Linked DNA regions of Homo sapiens: all the other regions are linked to region 1. The links are contacts of gene promoters, found by promoter capture Hi-C in blood cells and fetal thymus (Javierre and others, 2016). All regions are on one chromosome and are shown on one strand. The core of a region is centred on a gene start or on the middle of the fragment in contact, and the rest is flanking DNA. Distances in the headings are between cores, read along the strand shown. Region 1 has its middle 90 kb from the start of LRRC3B. Region 2 holds the start of NGLY1 (N-glycanase 1). Region 3 holds the start of LINC00692 (long intergenic non-protein coding RNA 692).

Region 1 (2,678 bases), core at 127-2,626:
CTGCAAGGGTTTCAATTTCAACACCTGTAAAATAAGTAGGTAAGCTCATCCCTAAGACTCTCCCAGCCCTAACAATCTAGGAATTCACCTAGCTGTAGTAACAAAAACATTTAATTAAGCAGAATTTTCCACTTCCTGCCTCTGCCAGATAGATGAGAGAACTTACTATATGAATTGAAAGTATTAAGCCAATAAGAAAAACCTACCCACATCTGAGACTGCCTTATGTTTGTTGATGTCAGGACAAGAGTTATTGTGAAGAATCAGAGAAGGACGTAAAAAAGAACAATGCGTACCTGGCAGATTTTGTATATCATTGCATTACAATTTGCCAAAGTGTTCTTGAAAGCTAAATCTTCCATTACATAACTTTTCATTACTTTGTTAAAAATGTTCCAGTTGGGTTGGCATGTTTTCCGATTTTCCTTGCTTCAAAGATAAGCACATTGTCAAAAATTAGAGTAAAATTCCTAGGTATTTCTGAATTTAAAAGGTTGGGGTTAAGAAAGAGATGCCAAAAGAGAAGGCTGAGAAAAGCGTTATTTAAAATATTTAGAAGGTAAGATAGAGGTAAGATAGTATGTGCCTTGGATAATGAGTTGACAGTTAATTTCAAAAACCTTACAGTCCCAAAATAGGTAGCTCTCCATCTGCAAGGGTTTGGAAAATTAAGGGCCAAGCTGGGATCAAAACTGAAGCATGCATGTTGGGCCTTTTTCTGTGCAGACTTGAGTCTTAGTTCTTTTCACTCATTGGCAGCATATACTGTTGGCCTTGGGGGACACAGCATTCCCACAAGCTGGCAGGAAGAGTGCTTCTTCTCAATTCTGATCACAAACGGGTGCCATAGCCTGGTATTTATTTTAAAATAAAGAAACAAACAAAAGAATTAATTTTCTCCTCCAATGGCTTATACATGATTCATGGCAACCGAACTTAAAGGCTCTTTTTAAAAAAAAAAAAAAAAAAGCGCTTAAGGTGCTGTTAACTAAAAATCTACACATAGAATTCAGGCAGGAGAATTATTAACCTATGACACACCTCTCAGCTCTATGTATATGGAGAATTTCAAAGTGAATATGTGGAAATTTAACTTTCCTGCATCTGAACAAGGATATAACTATGCTTACAAAACTTTTCAGAGATTTTTGCTTTACAAGTACTTTTACTTGAATAATACAATTGACCATTGGGAAAATAAGCTCCCATTAGTGAAGACAAAGATTATTTTGGAAGAAGCAGCCTGGAATGGATTATCTTATTTGTGAAAGCTTTTCTAAAATGAACGTGACTCATTCATACACTCAAATAAATACAATTAATTTACCTTTTTAAAGGGTTGTCTTAGCAAAGGCTTGATTTTCCTATTCTTTAGGAAAAAAATGTGTATTTCAGTTCAGTTGGGCATCTTTTCTAGAGTACCTGAAGAGATATATTATACTATTGTCCTCCAGGGGGCGATAAATCTTCAGCAAAGCTTCAGTCTCACTGGAAAGGTGAATTCTCAATTCAGTTCGTAAAAGCAGACAGTCTGGCTTCCTTCTTGCTGGGATGCAGGAATTCTTGGGCCTATATCCTGAATTTTACATCTAGGAGTTACCTCAGGCTTCTAGACTAGATCTAACACTTTTAGCAAGTTTGGTGGGGTTGGGGTGAAAAGCCCATGGCCCTGGGGTGTGTGTACCATGAGCAGAGCCTGGCCACAGTGCTCTGCATGCCTCGCCACAGGTCCTGGATTAGCTGACCCTGATTGTCCCTTGCAATAAATAAACATTTAAAGAGACTATTGCTGCCTAGGACCTCTAGGGCTTTCCGAGAGCAGAAATATTAGGCCCAAAGATACCCTAACTTGGGTTGGAGAAGGCTAAGTGTCTCAAAAGGGCAGAGGTTCCCTCTTACCTACATAAATCTCACAAAGGGCTATTTTTGTGCTATTTGAAAAATAAAACCATCATGTAGGAGGCTGCAAAACTCTAGGTCTGAGGAATCAGCAACTTTAGGTAGTAAAGTTGATGACCATAAGGCAGCACAGTGGATAAAATGTTCATAGGTTCTGGAGTTGACAGACTGGGTTTCAATGCCTGCTATGCTTACAAACTCTGTATTAATTACTTAACTCCTGTGTCTCTGATTCTCATTCACAAAAGACTGTCTCATAGGGGAGTTTGTAAGGACTCATTAAGATACTCCAAAGAAAGTACTTGGTGCATAGTAAGTGTTCCATAAATGCCATCAGTTCTATTATTCCTTAGTCTGGAACTGAGATCTCTACTATATAGTTCCAGCCTTGTTTCTCACTTCTTTGCATGGACTCCTTCATCCCAAACACCTCCCTATATGGTATCCCTCTGCTTCTTCTATCTTCCTTGTCTACATCATCACCTTATGAGATCCCACCCAAGTTTTAAAGATTATCTGTAATGGTACCTTAAAACCAATAACTTCCACACAATTCCCTACTCTTAAGAACCAAATGTGCTTTCTCCTATCTATCTCTGGCCAATGACAAGGACACAATATCTTGATTGTATGACAGATGCCAGGAGTATATATATTTTAAAACTCAGAACTGTGTACTTAACCTAGGTGCTTTTTTTAACAGAAAATTATAACTATAAACCAACTCAGTAGGAACATAATGTGAAGACCTTTCTTTGGAGACAGAAAGATCTGATTCA
Region 2 (2,678 bases), core at 122-2,621, 930 kb after region 1:
TATCTGTTGAACACACCATACTTGGAAGGTGGTCCAAAGATTTACATATTTATTAAAAGCGTACGTATATTTGGGAGACGAATAGTCATTGAACTGGATGTCATAGCTTAGGGTCTTGTTCGGAGATTCTGGAAGAAAATTTCAATTCTTAAAAGTAAACAGATGAAACATCAAGAAATTTAAAAGAGGTTATTCAGGCAAATCACTTATCTTAAGAAATAAAGTCAAGAAAAATACTTCGTGAGGTTGAAAAGGAATTTCTGCAAAGAAGGAAGCCACTGGTAAAGTACACTTTCAAGAACATGGTGGGGAAGAGACTGGATTAAAGTAGTAAGGGATGCATCTTCTAAGAGGAATAAAAGACCTTGATCACATGATCTACCTAAAAAACAAGTCACAAAATATTACTTACCCTTACTGTGTGGGATGCAAATTTTTATTCCCTTCCCGCCCCCGACATTCTATAATATTGCGTAATTATTATGCATGTGTTTTACGCTGGTCACCACGCGGTAAACCGAATCCACAACCCATTATTATGTCGCAACCTATGGTTTAAAAATACACTTCCTTACAGAGGAATCATATACTAGTTGAGCTGGAACTTAGATTTTCAGTCATTAGCCAAATTCTGAAAAGAATCCATATAACAAACCCAGCAGAGTTTATAGCCATGGTTTTGTTTTTGACGTTTGTTGCTCCTTCCTTCTGTAGTCTTTCATCCACATCTATGTAGAACGTCCTGACAATCTGCGAAGAGAAGGCTCTAAGGTGGTTTTATTTGTGGGGAAAGGAGGGAGGTACATGCGGTTTCTCCACCTTAATAGCTGGATCAATTAGGCTGGCCCCGGAGCGCAAAGGGATCCGGGTTTCTGAGAGGCACGTGCCAGCACCATTCGCCCGATACCTCTAGACCAAAGCCGGCCTCCCCTCCAGCCGAGCTCCTCCGTCCTAAAGGACTCGACATCCCCCTCCTCCAGGCCCACACCCCTCAGCCCCGGAGCCCAGGCCCCGCCTCTCCCTGCGGAACCCCTTCCCAACCTGTACGACCAGGCCCCAACTCTGGGTCGAAGCACCTCGCCCCTGCCGGCCGAGGCCCCCCACCTTCTTCCGAACAGCCCCTTGCCCCCCGCGAAGGGGCAGCCGTAGCTCCCAGCCGAGCTCCCCCGCTCCTGGCCCCGGTCCCCGACCCCGCCCCAGGCCCCCGACCCCGCCCCTGCCGGCCGAAGACCCCGCCCCTGCCGGCCGAGGACCCCGCCCCTGCCGGCCGAGGACCCCGCCCCTGCCGGCCGAGGACCCCGCCCCTGCCGGCCGAGGACCCCGCCCCTGCCGGTGGCTGCGGTAGCTGCTGCGCGCTGAGGCGCCTGCTCAGTGTGGGACGCGGAGAGCGAGGGGCGGCGGCGGCGCCCGCTGGCGCTCAAGCATGGCGGCGGCGGCATTGGGCAGCTCCTCAGGCTCGGCGTCCCCGGCCGTGGCTGAGCTCTGCCAGAACACCCCGGAGACCTTTTTGGAGGCCTCCAAGCTGCTGCTCACCTATGCTGACAACATCCTCAGGTGCAGGGCAACGGGGTCGGACGGCGGGTACCGGGGTGGGTGGGCCGCGGCACCTTGTTCGGCCAGGGACTGGGGCGTCCGGCCTGAGCTTCAGAGGGCAGCGACGCCCGGACAGACCGGGACCTGGAGCTGGTTCTGCTCCTAACGTCCGAGCCCGCCGGCCAGGGGCCTCGGGACCCGGCCAAGTCCCACCCCCGCTCGAGAAAAGGAAGTTTCTTTGCAGTTGTGACTTGGCACCTGCAGTCAGGGTGCTGCGGGTGAACTGGAGTCCCGGAAGCGGGGCCGGGCGGAGGAGAGGTAGGAAGGCGTGCTTCAGACACTGCCGCTCTTCTCGTCGTTTAACGGCCTCAGATATCGGGACACAACGGTAACCGCACCGCGCGTGTCATTCCCCCTGCGTGCATTTTTCGAGCGGAGTGGCTTACATTTCCACATACTTATCAGAAGTTACTCACTGACAAAGTGATGTTTTCTTCCCATGTTGAGACTATCCGAGTACTAAAGCATAATGCTTCTGAAGTGGTGGGTTTTAAAATTTTTAATTTTTTTTCTGCCCACTTTTGTTGATTGAAACATTATAGTATTTTGAAGTTACAGTTTTTATATTAATACCTGGATTCTACTATGTAACATAACCCTTTAAGAATTCGTGGAGGTAATCGCCTTGGATGAGAGTAATTTCCTTCATTCTCCTGTCAGCAAAATTGCACTTCTAGAGGTCTAAGGGACCTTGCAGATTTTGGGAATTGGGAGGCAAGTTTGATTATTCATTTTGAATAAGTACCCACCTCAACTCTTCAGATCAAATGATCTGAAGGGACATGGTGTGGGGGGGTAGGGAAATGGAACTGAGGTTAAAGGAGAGCCACTTGCTTTAGGGGTGTTACCTCATTTATCAGGTCACCGTGATTAATTAGGTTCTCTGTTCCCCTCAGCCCCTGGTGCATTAAGTGTTTGGTATATTGTCATGAAGTCTAAAAGGAAATTCTCAGTTTCAAGGTTATAGGTTTCACGTGACCCAATTTTAGACATTAGTTACATGTGCAGTTTTTAAAATCCATGTCAGTAATATTTCATTTAGGCAATGGTAATGATTTTTAAAGTAAATTGAAGGGAAAATATAT
Region 3 (2,678 bases), core at 98-2,597, 840 kb after region 1:
GGGAAAAATTCAGATTTTAGGCATAAATATACCTCCATCCTGATGGGAAGGAGACACCAATGGGAGCAAGTTAATAAAATTAAAACCTAAAAAGGACTGGGTAGAAGTGGGGTCAAGATAGGAAAGCCAAACATTCAGGTTTCCTCTGCATTCGCATCAATTATCTGTACGTCAAGTGGTAAAGGCAGCAGCTACGGAAGCTAAGCTAACAGTTATTGCCGGGCGCGGTGGCTCATGCCTGTAATCCCAGCACTTTGGGAGGCCGAGGCGGGCACATCATGAGGTCAGGAGATCGAGACCATCCTGTGAATGGTGAAACTCCGTCTCTACTAAAAATACAAAAAATTAGCCAGGCGTGGTGGCGGGCACCCGTAGTCCCAGCTACTCAGGAGGCTGAGGTGGGAGAATGACGTGAACCCGGGAGCAGAGTTTGCAGTGAGCCAAGATTGCACCACTGCACTCCAGCCTGGGAGACAGAGCGAGACTCCTCTCAAAAAAAAAAAAAAAAAAAAAAACAGTTATTAGAGGTAGTTCAAAGGCCTGGAGGCCAAACTTTGAAAGCAGAGGTGATGAAAGTCTTGGGTACCAGGGATCAAGAGCAAGTCAAGCATCTGAAACACAAAAAGGTCAACGCAGAGGTAAAGAGGACAACAGGATTTCAGTGGCCAAAGTACACATGAATACAGAATTGTGAATGTCATATGGAGCAAAACACTGGCAACAAGAATAAGAATGCAAGAATGTCTGATTTGTGAAAGAATCATGATATGTTATGAAAATTGATACTTTCTGATTTCTTCTATACATCTTACTAATTATAAATTATTCTGAGTTGACCAGTAAATGCAGAAAGTATTTAAACCAGCCAGAGCCCAGGAGTGTTCTGGATACAGGTGAGCTCTGTTGGCATCTGGAACAGAAGAACTGGATGTGGCAGATTGCACCTTCCAAAGATGATCACCATAGTATCTCCTATCTAATACGCTGTTCCGCAATATGACTTTGACATTTCCTCATCAAGAAGTGGAGTCTTATTACCTTACTCTGGGCTTGGCTTTACTGGCTTGTTGAACCAGCAGAATATGACAGAAGTGACACTCCAACCTCTGAAAAGACTGTAAAAACACCTTGCAATTTCTACCTGAGCCTCTTAAAAGGATCACTCTTGGGATGCTGTCTCTGAGGACTGTGGCCATATGAAAGGTCTCAGCCACATGAAAAGGTTATTGGTTGGTGTTCAGGCATGTAGCTCCAGCAGAACTCCTAGGAAACAGTCATCATCAACTGCCAGCCATGCCACATTCCAACTCAACTGAACCTTTAGACGAATGTAGCCCTAGCCTCTATTTGACTTCAACTACAAGAGAGATGCCAAGCTGAGACCAGTTAAGCCACAGAACTGTGAGATATAAAAATAAATTGTTATTTTAAGCCATGTGTTTCAAGGCGGCTTGCTATGTAGCAATAGATAATCAGTACCTAGGGTTACAGGGATGATTTTTTAAATTATCTCTATCTATGGCTAGTAATACTGGGGCCATGACACTTACAGTTATCAACTCCAGCAGACTCAGAAATTCACTCAGCTCCCCTACTCCACCCTTTTTGGTTCTCCAATAAAATGTTTGGTGATGGATGGCTCTGGAAGTTAAATGAGACTTGGTATTACCTGGGAAATTTTGATTTGCAGCAACTCCACAATGACTATTATTGCACATAACTGAGATGTGACTAGAGCCTGGAACAACTGAAAACGCAGAAAAGTCTGTATTATAAGACCAGGGTGGAGAGCAAGTACTGAAGATAACTGAGTGATCACTAAAATACATCAGAGAATCCACACTCTCGTGATAAGTGGCATTTGAAGGGAGAAATTTTCCAGAGAGATAAATGAGACCTTTCTCAATTAATATCAGTACTTGTGTTGCTTGTTATATTGTTGCATTTCCTCCTGAAATATTACAGGCACCAGGCTATTTCACTTACCTCCAAACCTTCAATTGTTTAGTCTCTGTTAATGCAAGGTCATAATGCAGAACACAGATCCTCAGTTTACAGTCAATCCTCAATTATTCAAGGCTTATGGAGTTACAGCGCAGTCCAGTAGATCTCTGCTTAAATATTGGTTTCATTGACATTTGGACACATCTGGAAATTCAGTCTGCTTAATTTTGATTTTGCTGACATCACAACTCAGTTATTTGAACTCTAAATACCTAATCACCTCTAGTGCAAGTTTGAGCTAGATGGACGGCAGGAGAGAAGTAAACATTTATAGATTGTCTTTTGCATTTTACATACATTATCTAATTTAGTCCCCACAGCAATTCAATGAGATATTACTATCCTTATTTCATAGAAAATGAAACTCAGGCTCAGAAAGTTCAACTTAAGTTTGCTTCCTTCCCCATTTTGTTGCTTAACAATATAATTAAGAGAATAGACTCTAGAATCAAACAGACTGGAATTATCTTTTTATCATAATATGTTTTTATTAAAATGAGTTTTTAAATGTATAGTTTATCTGTTTTTATATCTGGCAGTTTCTCTATGATTTAGCTTTCAGAAAAGTCATATTGTTCTCAAATGACCTAGCTTTTACCTTCGTTAACTCAAACCTGCACCCATCTGAAGTGAAACCAGCAACCATTTAACAGCAAACAGTAGCAGCAGCATGC

The links. The method cuts DNA at HindIII sites, captures the fragments that hold promoters and counts their contacts. A CHiCAGO score of 5 or more calls a contact.
Region 2: a contact is called between the fragment with the promoter of NGLY1 here and a fragment that was not itself captured in region 1, in 1 of 17 cell types (fetal thymus). The highest score is 6.0, in fetal thymus.
Region 3: the fragment with the promoter of LINC00692 here is called in contact with a fragment that was not itself captured in region 1 in 2 of 17 cell types (megakaryocytes and fetal thymus); the score reaches 8.6 in megakaryocytes.

Annotation. Positions count from the first base shown.
Region 1 is chr3:26,711,398-26,714,075 of GRCh38, reverse strand. No RefSeq gene overlaps it. Among named protein-coding and RNA genes, the nearest start is that of LRRC3B, 90 kb to the right of the region's middle. The HindIII fragment of the contact is 206 bases long and covers 1,274-1,479 here.
Region 2 is chr3:25,782,136-25,784,813 of GRCh38, reverse strand. It overlaps NGLY1 (N-glycanase 1), which reads left to right and starts at 1,371. Exons shown (of 12, transcript NM_018297.4): 1 at 1,371-1,554. The coding sequence starts at 1,424. RefSeq lists a silencer at 1,182-1,421 and enhancers at 1,732-1,781, 1,942-2,021. The HindIII fragment of the contact is 11,918 bases long and covers 1-2,678 here.
Region 3 is chr3:25,872,364-25,875,041 of GRCh38, reverse strand. It overlaps LINC00692 (long intergenic non-protein coding RNA 692), which reads left to right and starts at 1,347. Exons shown (of 8, transcript NR_034055.1): 1 at 1,347-1,401; 2 at 2,560-2,678. LOC124909357 (a long non-coding RNA gene) reads right to left here and starts at 1,264. Exons shown (of 2, transcript XR_007095849.1): 1 at 1,039-1,264. The HindIII fragment of the contact is 8,581 bases long and covers 1-2,678 here.